2 separate regions of the Homo sapiens genome follow, and region 1 is linked to region 2. Evidence: promoter capture Hi-C in human tissues and cell types (Jung and others, 2019). All regions are on one chromosome and are shown on one strand. Each heading gives the region's core, a stretch centred on a gene start or on the middle of the fragment in contact. The rest is flanking DNA. Distances are from core to core; before and after follow the strand shown. Region 1 overlaps CTNNA3 (catenin alpha 3). Region 2 holds the start of DNAJC12 (DnaJ heat shock protein family (Hsp40) member C12).

Region 1 (5,384 bases), core at 1,354-3,853, 1.3 Mb before region 2:
ATTTGACCCAGCCATCCCATTACTGGGTATATACCCAAAGGAATATAAATCATGCTGCTGTAAAGACGCATCCACACATATGTTTATTGTGGCACTACTCACAATAGCAAAGACTTGGAACCAACCCAAATGTCCAACAATGATAGACTGGATTAAGAAAATGTGGCACATATACACCATGGAATACAATGCAGCCATAAAAATGATGAGTTCATGTCCTTTGTATGGACATGGATGAAGCTGGAAACCATCATTCTCAGCAAACTATCACAAGGACAAAAAACCAAACACCGCATGTTCTCACTCATAGGTGGGAATTGAACAATGAGAACACTTGGACACAGGAAGGGGAACATCACACATCAGGGCCTGTTGTGGGGTTGGGGGAGGGGGGAGGGATAGCATTAGGAGATATACCTAATGTAAATGATGAGTTAATGGGTGCAGCACACCAACATGGCACATGTATACATATGTAACAAGCCTGCACGTTGTGCACATGTACCCTAGAACTTAAAGTATAATAAAAATATATACATTAAAAAAATAAAATAAAACTTGAAATTTGCAGACTTTAAAATAGAAATTCTACTTTTAGAAATGTATTCTAATGAAATAACTAAGGTAAACATTGAAATTTAGCTTAAAAAGGCTACAGTATTTTTTAATAAATAAACACCATATAGTAAATTACCAAAATGTATATCCACTAAGTAAGTTAGAGTGCAGAATTTTGTTTGTTTGTTTGTTTTTTCTTGCTGTGCTGCCCAGGCTAGAGTTCAATGGCGCAATCTCGGCTCACTGCAATCAATCCCTGCCTCCCAGGTTCAAGCAATTCTCCTGTCTCAGCCTCCCGAGTAGCTGGGATTACAGGTCTCTGCCACTGAGCCCGGCTAATTTTTGTATTTTTAGAAGAGACAGGTTTCACCATCTTGGCCAGGCTGGTCTCAAACTCCTGACCTCGTGATCCACCCACCTCAGCCTCCCAAAGTGCTGGGATTACAGGCGTGAGCTACTGCACCCGCCCAGAATGCAGGTTTTTAATAAAATGCTATGCAGCCATGAAAAATTACATTAAACAATATTTAATAACATGGAAAGGGGTTTAAGTTATTTTAAGTGAAGAAAAAAATAAATTAAAAATATATGTGATACATTTTATAGAGACAACTACCTACACAGAAGAAGCTGAAAGGTTATACACCAAATATTATTCATCATGATTTCTGGTAGAGAAATTACAAGAAATTTCTACTTTAAAATTTTTGTATTTTTTAATGAATTACATTTCTAAAGATAGTAGAAAAAATGAAGCTCTCTTAGAGCTGATTCAAAATCTTTCCTATTAGAACCTCTGTTCATCTCTGAATCTTATTTCAATTATAAGGAAAGCTGTGAATAGCTTGTAACAACATCCAATTCACCATTGTGAGTTAATTTTTTAAAGTTTCTTCTCCCACTGTATATGGTGAAATAGGTGAATGTATTAAAATTGCTAAATTTTGCTTTTTCTGAATTTAGCTAATCCTTCTTGAGATGTGTGTGTGTGTATATATATATATATATATATATATATATATATATATATATATTTGTTCTTCAGCATTTTTCTTTATTTTATTCTATCTCCTTTTGAGCTAAATGGATGACCTATCTGCCAGCTCCATTAGTAATTTTATTTACTGCTTCAGCCTTTGAAACAAGTTAATGCAGAAGATTGAATAGTATTTTAGAATTTACTTCACACAGTAATGTGACTCAAGGCTTCATTGGCTATTATGTCCCCTTTGGCATTAAATATTTTAATCTGCTAACTATGACAGATACAGGATGGCCAATTTCCCAGTAAATGTATTAGCCTCCTAGTAAATTACCCTTTCCCACCTTATACCATGCAGCCTATTAACCTATAAAATCCCTTCTCTTCCAATATAGGCAAGATGTCTTAACTGAAGACTTAATGTTGAACACATCCTAAAGCTTGAGAAGACCTTATTTCAGAGGGTTGGGAAAGGAAAACTAATCATTGCAAGCAAACTTTAAGTTGCTGAGACTACAGATGTCACTTTGGTTCATTTCCTATTACCATCGTTTGATGAGGATATAGCCCAAAAACCAAGCTAGATGAGTATTTTAATAAATGTGGACTGAGATTGCTTTAACAGAAAATATAAGAAATTTCTGTGTTTTTAGTAATATATCCTAGGTTCAAATTAATAAATCTCTTGATTATTCTGTGCCTTAAACTTGTATGACCATCTAGTCGTACCATTTGAGCAAATAAGTTACCACCTCAGGAAAAATGAAGTCAGCACTCAATTTATATCTATAGGATAATTGTGTTTTGTTTTGCTTTTATCTTAAGCCCACACTCTAGTAAACAAAAGCTATCAGAAGAAAGCTTTGTAAAATATTACAGATTGTGTTGTTAAATAATACTAAGAACTTTCTTGCATTTCATGGAAAAGATAATGCATATTGTGTACTTTTCATTATTTTAAATGTGTCTAGGACCAAATAAACCAACGGTGTTCTCTGTCCTTCTACTGGTTTGGGAAAAGATTTATGTAACAAACCATTATCTTCTAGTTAGAAATCATGAAAGATGAGGACTGTTGTTCCTGTAATTAATCACCCTATAGTAGAACTCTCTCACAGTGACTTAACAAAATACACTTATGTATGAATCTTAAATATGCAGAAGGAATACTAAAGTTGAACGGGTAGGATATTTTATCTTCTTTTAAGCTTTCATATGGTTAAATAAAACAAAAATTAAAAGTCTATAAAACAGAATGTATAGCTTTACAAATAATTATAACCAATACCCAAGTTGTGGAAAAGAATATTATCATAAATTACACACCCTTATATGCTAATTTTTCTTTTTAATGTTACCGCATAAACGTCCCTTTCTAAACAGTATAATTTTATTTCTTTCTGAAATTTACAAAAACAGCAGCTTTATTTCTTGCTTATTTTAGTCAATACTACACTTGTGAGATTCATCCAGATTGCTATATGTACCTATAAATCATTTATTTTGTTGTTCCTTTTTTCATTATATAAATATAACACAAATCCATTCTACTGTCAAACATTTGGATTGCTTCTAGGAAATTACAATTAATGCTGCTATTAATATTTTCTCATTCCTATATGCATCAGTGTCTTCAGATTATGTGTCTGGGAGTGGAATGGTTGGGTCACAGAGTGTATTAACTTTTCATTTCAGAAGACAATGCTAAACATGTTTCTAAGGTGTCCATACTGATGTAGTCTCCCAGCAACATATGAGTATTTTTGATATTTCACATCTTCACCACTTGATATTGTCAATCTTTTAAATTATAGCCATTCTGGAGAGAATACAGTTGTGTTTTTTATTCGGAGTTACCAATAACTAAAGAGATTATTCTGTTTTCTATATGTTCATTAGATATTTGGGTTTTGTCATTTGTTATTAGTATATTTAAGTCACTTGCCCATTCCCAAGTGGTTAGCTTCTGTCTTTGTATATTTTGTATATCTATATCTACAAACATATACGTATGTTTTATCTACATAAAATTATGTATGTACATTATATATTATATATTTAAATATAATATATTTATCTTCTGGATATAAACTCATTGTCAGTTAAGTATTTTGCAAATATATTTTTCCATGTGAAGGCTTATACTTTCACTCTCTTATGGATGTATTTTGATAAACACAGGTCCTTAGTTTTCATGCAGTATAATTATCTCCTGTTTATTTTTATGTTTACTACTCTTATTTCCTATTAAAACTTTTTCATATCCCAAGCTTATGAAGATATTCTACACTATCTTCTAAAAACATATGTTTTTGCTTTCACTTTTAAGTTACTAATCCACATGGAATTGGTTTACATGAAAGATATGAGGGAGAACTCAAATTTCATTTACTTTCACATGCATGTAATTGTCACAGCATCATTTACTGAAAAGAATATATTTTCCCCACTTTTGTAGCATCAAATCATCATCATAATAATCATAATAATAAATGTATATTTCTGTATTTTTATTCCATTTGTTTATCCTTGATTCAGTACAACATGGTTGGATCAGTCTGTTTTCATACTGGTATAAATAACTGCCCAAGACTGGGTAATTTATAAAGGAAAGAGGTTTAATTGACTCACTGTTTAGCATGGTTGGGGAAGCCTCGAGAAACTTACAAATATGGTGGAAGGTGAAGGGGAAGCAAGGCACCTTCTTCACAAGGCATCAGGCGGTAGATGTGAGTAAGTGAAAGCAGGGGAAATGCCAGATGCTTATAAAACCATCAGATCTTGTGAAATCACTCACTATCATGAGGACAGCATGGGGGAAGCCACCCTCATGATACAATTACCTCTACCTGGTCCCACTCTTGACACGTGGAAATTATGGGGATCATGGGGATTACAATTCAACATGAGATTTTGGGTGGGGACACAGCCAAACCATAGTCATGGTCTTAATTACTTTATTTTTATCAGATTTGATATGTCCCATGGAGTAATTCCTTCCATGTTACACTTTGTTTCTGTCAGAGTAGATTATACTGCAATAACAAAGAATTTTAAATTGCAGTGACTTATAACAACAGAGCTTTTTGTTTTGTTTTTCTTGCTCTCTCTAGTTGTCCATTTTGGGTTGTCTGGAGAATATACTTGATTTCTTCTAATTCTGGAGCCCACACTGATTGAACAGCTACTCTCTTGCACATATTGCTAATTACCTTAGCAGAAGGAAGTAGATAGAGTGTGGTGAATTATTAATTGGCTCTTAAATCTTCTAGCCAGGAGTCACAAATGTCACTTTCACATTTCATTAACAAAACACGTCACACGACCACTCATCACCTCAACCAAGAGGAGAAAATAAAATATTGGATAGACAGCACTAATGATTAACCTAATCTTTTAAATGAGTATATAACTTATTCTTGTTCCTTTGATTTTTCTTTCTTTCTTTTTTTTTTTTTTGAGATAGAGTCTGCTCTGTTGCCCAGGCTGGAGTCCAGTGGCCCATTCTTGGCTCACTGCAAGCTCCACCTCCCGGGTTGATGCCATTCTCCTGCCTCAGCCTCCCAAGTAGCTGGGACTACAGGCGCCCGCCACCACGCCCAGTTAATTTTTTGTATTTTTAGTAGAGACGGGGTTTCACCATGTTAGCCAGGATGGTCTCGATCTCCTGACCTCGTAATCCACCCTCCTCGGCCTCCCAAAGTGCTGGGATTACAGGCATGAGCCACTGCACCCAGCCTGATTTTTCTATATGAAACTTCTTATTAATTTGTGAAGTTCATAAATAAATATTTTAAAGATTTTGGTTGGTATTGCATTAAATTTATAGGTCAGCCTAAGGTTA
Region 2 (6,005 bases), core at 2,855-5,354:
ATGAAGTAAATGTATGATGAATTTTAAGTTCATTTTAGTTTATGTATATGAGTACCAAGCTTTTATAATAAAATGCCTCAGAGCTATAATTTTTTTTAATTTCTGATTTTGATCATTATACTTTCATTAGGTATGATGTTAACATAAAGGGAAGCTGGGTTAAGGGTATATAGGAACTCTGTTGTACTATTTTTACAACTTTTCTGTAAGTCAAAAATTATTGCAAAATAAAACATCTTAAAAATAATGCAAACTCAAGGATAGGATAAGTGTACTAAGTTCCAAGTGCACAGTAACACTGTGGGGGCCAAAACAACAGCCACAACCACAACCACCACAACTTAGCGCTCTGCACCAGGCACTGTTCAAAGTACTTTATATATCACGTATTATTTAATCCCCACAACTCTGTGAGGTGGGTACTATTTACTTCCATTTACAGGTTAGAAAACTGAGGAATAGAGGCCGGGCGCGGTGGCTCATGCCTGTAATCCCAACACTTTGGGAGGCCAAGGCGGCGGATCACTTGAGGTCAGGAGTTCAAGGCCAGCCTGGACAACATGGTGAAAGCTCATCTGTACAAAAATACAAAAATTAGCTGGGCATAGTGGCATGCACGTATAATCCCTGCTACTCAGGAGGCTGAAGCAGGAGAATCACTTGAACCCAGGAGGCTGCAGTGAGCTGAGATCCTGCCACTGCACTCCAGCCTGGGCAACACAGTGAGACTTCATCTCAAAGAAACAAAAATTTAAAAAAAAAATCCAATATAGGGAGAAAGGCTAACTGTCTTGGAATCAATCTTTGTTAAATTGTTTTGAAATGGGGAATATATTGTTTTCTATATAACATGGAAATCCTCCCATAATTTATATATGTCATTATGTAAACTAGAAAATTAGTCTCATTGCTTGTTTTCATGGTTGTATTTTCAATTTCTGAAAGATAATTTTAAAAACTCTCTGAGAAGGAAAAGCTTCAGGATTACTGCTCTAGAACCATTAGAAAATACATAATTTTACTTTAATCAATTTCTAGCACAAACTTTAAATTGTAAGAACTATATACCAAAGCAAAAGTATTATGTGGGTGTCTCAATTCAATTGTGATAAGTAAAATTAGAATATCAAATTGTTTTGAAATTATAACAGCTAAAATGCTTTCGGGCATGATGAGTTCTGGTTAATTTTAGAGCATCAAATGAAGGAATACCTGAAGTAAAGGCAATCTATCCAATACAAATCAAGTAAAGGAAATGTCATATTAGTCAAAAATGTCATAAAAATATTTTTGAAATGAGAAGCATACCTATAAAAAGAAGAGAAAAGCCAGGTGCGGTGGCTCACGTCTGTAATCCCAGTATTTTAGGAGGCCGAGGTAGGCAGATCACGAGGTCAAGAGATGAAGACCATCCTGGCCAACACGGTGAAACCCCGTCTCTACTAAAAATACAAAAATTAGCTAGGCATGGTGGCATGTGCCTGTAGTCCCAGCTACTCAGGAAGCTGAGGAAGGAGAATCACTTGAACCTGGGAGGCGGAGGTTGCAGTGACCTGAGATTGCACCACTGCACTCCAGCCCGGCAACAGAGTGAGACTCCATCTCAAAAAAACAAAAAAAAGAGAGAAAAAATGACACACACACACACACACACACACACACACATATATATAAAGAAGTGACAATATTATGACAAACATTTCATTAAAAATAAATAATTGTTATCTAGATATGATATGCCATTGACAGACCAGTAAAATACATCCAGTAAAAGGAATGTTGAGACAAGGAAGTATGACTCCACCTGGTAACCATATTTTGAATATTACACATTAACAACGAGATTATTTTCTGTAAGGCTGTCCAAAATGAATCCTCCTTCTATGTAGATTGAAAAGACAACAGCATAACTTCAAAAGACTGACTATGCAGCCATAAAAAAGAATGAGTTCATGTCCTTTGCAGGGACATGGATGAAGCTGGAAACCATCATTCTCAGCAAACTAACACAGGAACAGAAAACCAAACACCACATGTTCTCACTCATAAGTGGGAGATGAACAATGAGAGCACATGGACACAGGCAGGGGAACATCACACACCGGGGCCTGTCGGGGGGTGGGGGAGAAGGGGAGGGACAGCATTAGGACAAATACCTAATGTATGCGGGGCTTAAAACCTAGATGATGGGTTGATAGGTGCAGCAAACCACCCTGGCACATGTGTATCTATGTAACAAACCTGCACATTCTGCACAGGGATCCCAGAACTTAAAGTAAAATTGAAAAAAAAAAAAAAGGACTGACTAAATAGGTCACAAGATTATGGAGATATAATGACCCTTACTGTATAAGCTAGCATGTATTTTTTTAAATCCAAATTGTCAGCCTTATCAAGTTAAATTATATTCCTTTGATTTTAAATTATTCCTTCAAAAATTGTTTGATAATAGTATAATTTCAACTGTGAATAACACATGGTAAAAATGGTAATAAGCTTTCTCAATTGCTATAAGCAAATCACCACCAACATAAACAAGAATAACACATTCTTGAGAAGAAATATGCAACTAAAAGACCATTATAAGCTATTCTGGGGGCGGGGCAGTTTTTTTAATTTCAACGTGTCTAAGATAACTTCCTCAGCATGGCAAAAATAGAGATTTTAATCCTTTGTGTCCAGTAATGCATTCTATTCTTAAAACAAAACTAAGCACATTTTATTAATGAACTACTGCCTTTATGAAACAACAATAAATATAAAAACATTTTGCTTTACAATGTTAATTTTACTACTTAGATTTTAATAAAAATAAATAAAATAAAATACATTAATTATAAAACATAAATATATCCTAATAACATGATTTAATAATATATAATTTAATAATGAATATATTTTATATTAATCTCAACATTATTTGAAATATTGAAAAATTGGAAATAAAATATTTAACAATAAGAGAATAATTCAACTGTGGTAACACAGCAAAATAAAATATTTTGCAACCACTAAAAAGTGTACAAGGAAAGTTTAATAGCATGGAAAATTCCTTGTTATAATACGAATGGGTAAAAAGCAGGAATCAACAAGTACATATAATATCCTCCCAAACAGGTCTTTAAAGAATATACATAGAAAGAATAGTGGAGATTAATATGCCAAAATATTAATACTGTTATCCTTGGGAGAGAGAATTATAAATGATTTTTCCATAATTTAAAAAACCTCTACAACCTTTATAATTGTTTATTGAGAACTTTAAAAATTTTGTTTTCTTACAGATCCAGTGAACAGCTACAGAGTTTTCACATGTTTTGTTTCAGAAGCCACCCTTTCAAGAAGTAATTTCTGTCACACAATTTGAAATATTAACATAAAGGGATGCTTCTTTGTTTCTATTTTGACTGCTCACATAGGAGTACACATTTTAATAAAATATATTAAAATCCCTAATTTTATAAGAAATTTCATTTCACCTCAATTATGAGTCACCATAATAAAGGTATAGCTTATATATACTGTGAAACACTGCCATCAGAAATTACAATAAAATTTCAAATATTTATTTTTAATATACTATATTGTGAAACAGCATATGGCCATGTGCCAGAATACACATATTTAATCAGAAGCTTCCGTAAAATTCCCATAGGACACTATTCAAGTAAAATCCCAACATACATTTAAATTCTTAACTTTCTCTGAGCCAAAAGTGCTTTAAAACAACACAAGGTTAGGTTTGTAGGCAATGTGACTAAAAATTCAAAGTTAAAACCTTAAATAAAAACTTGAAATACTATTGTGAAAAAGAATACTGTTGTGATAAAAATATTATCCACTGTCTTACCGAAGATAGTTCATCACATCCCAGTAATGTGTAGTAATCTTCAGTATCTTCTGACCTGTAATTCAGTATTGCATCCATTTAGATGACTTAATCAGTCCTTCTTCCCTCGGAAACAAGAGGCACAGTGAGCTTCGAATTAACAGGAAGAAACTCTTTAAATCTGAATTAGAGCAGCATGTTCCACATAGCAAAAACTAGCTTTAAGACTGGCCACAGTCAATACACCAGATGTCATCCTAGACCTTTGTAAACTCTGCCTCTCATTGGCTGTTTACAGAGAAGAAAAGAACAGTCCACGTGTCTATTATTGCAGTGCTGCCTGGGATCTGTAGTTTGAGTTTATATAAGAGATGCATGTGAACCATTTGTCTTATGAGTTAATAAAGACTGTCTATTTTCAGAAACTTGCCACATTAGCCACTTCTCCATCTCCTATATATTTTTGTCTCTATCCTTTAAAAAAAAAAAAGAAAAAAAATGTGAAGCAATGTGGTAAAATCTTAGGATGTGTTAATAAGGATAATGGGAGCTTTTCTTAGTGTTTAAAATACTTAATTTTATTTTTTATTTGTTTATTTTCAGACAAGGTCTCACTCTGTTGCCCAGGCTGGAGTGCAGTGGTGCAGTCTCAGCTCACTGCAACCTCTGTCTCCCCAGCTCAAGCGATCCTCCCACCTCAGCCTCCCTAGTAGCTGGGACCACAGGCACATAGCACCATGTCCAGCTAATTTTTGGTTTTTGTTTTGTTATGTTTTAAGAGGAGGGGGTTTTGCCATGTTGCCCAGCCTGGTCTCGAACTCGTGAGCTCAAAGCGATCTGCCTGCTTCGGCCTCCCAACGTGCTGGGATTACAGGCATGATCCACAGCGCCCAGCCAATAACACAGTCTTGATTTTTATGGAGCTTACGCTCTGATGGAGGAAGACAGCTGAAAAACATGCAAAAAAAAAAAAAAAAAAAAAAAACACGATCATTTAAAATAGTGATTTGTAAGCCAGGCATGGTGGCCCACACCTGTAGTCCAGCTACTTGGGAGGCTGAGGCAGAAGAATCACTTGGACCCAGGAGGCAGAGGCTGTAGTGAGCCGAGATGGTGCCACTGCACTCCAGACTGCGCTACAGAGCAAGACTCCATCTCAAAAAATAAAAAAATAAAATAGTGATTTGTGCTTTAGAGAAAATAAAATAGGACAATGAGAAGAACTGTATGATAACTCGGGTCAGATGGCTGTGCTATTTCTCCTGGGTTGGTTCTCCAGACTCAGGAGTGTCTCTAGTCTGAGGTAGGTCCAGGCAATTTATGTTTCAGTTCATTTTGGCCCTAAGAAACACAGTTCAGGTCTGGGATTTAGAGAACAAGGTGAGTGGTCAGGGACACAACACTTTGACTGCCTTAACACTTTTTTTGTTTCATTTTTCAGAGAGACAGGGTCTCGCCATATTGCCCAGATTGGTCTTAAACCCCTGGACTCAAGTGATCCTCCCACTTTGGCCTCCCAAAGTGCTGCGATTACAGATGTGAGCCAACATGCCTGGCCCTTAACACTTTAAATTCCCCCACCTGAGGGGAAAAAATAGTTTTTCTTTTAGCCCACCTATATACATCTTTTTAAAGGTTTATTTCTGAAGAGAAGCAAGAAAAAGCACTGAAACACCATTTTTTACTAATCCTTCATTGTACATGCTGTCTTGCTAAAAGTTCTATATAGAATTTTAAGGCCAGGCACGGTGGCTCATGCCATAATCCCAGCACTGGGAGACCGAGGCGGGCGGATCACGAGGTCGGGGGTTCGAGACCAGCCTGACCAATGTGATGAAATCCTGTCTCTACTAAAAATACAAAAATTAGCCAAGCATGGTGGCACGCACCTGTAGTCCCAGCTACTCAGGATGCTGAGGCAGGAGAATTGCTTGAATCTGGGAGGCGGAGGTTGCAGCGAGCCGAGATCGTGCCACTGGACTCCAGCCTGGGTGACAGAGCCAGGGTCCATCTCAAAAAAAAAAAAAAAAATTAGATCACAATATCTTGATCTAAATCACTGATAAATGGCCTTTTAATGATGTGAAGTTGCCATGGTGGAAAGCAGTATGGTGGTTCCTCAAAAAATTAAACATAGAACTACCATGTGACCCCACAATTCCACTTCTGGGTAAAT

Evidence for each region. Contacts are between HindIII fragments. The study calls those that stand out against the background at their distance.
Region 1: a fragment that was not itself captured here is called in contact with the fragment with the promoter of DNAJC12 in region 2 in 1 of the 25 tissues and cell types used here (dorsolateral prefrontal cortex).

What each region holds. Positions count from the first base shown.
Region 1 is chr10:66,542,363-66,547,746 of GRCh38, forward strand. All of the region lies in intron 10 of CTNNA3 (catenin alpha 3), which reads right to left. Among named protein-coding and RNA genes, the nearest start is that of LRRTM3, 380 kb to the right of the region's middle. The HindIII fragment of the contact is 3,995 bases long and covers 607-4,601 here.
Region 2 is chr10:67,834,084-67,840,088 of GRCh38, forward strand. DNAJC12 (DnaJ heat shock protein family (Hsp40) member C12) reads right to left here and starts at 4,105. Exons shown (of 5, transcript NM_021800.3): 1 at 3,851-4,105. The coding sequence starts at 3,928. It also overlaps the pseudogene DNAJC19P1. The HindIII fragment of the contact is 7,681 bases long and covers 3,066-6,005 here.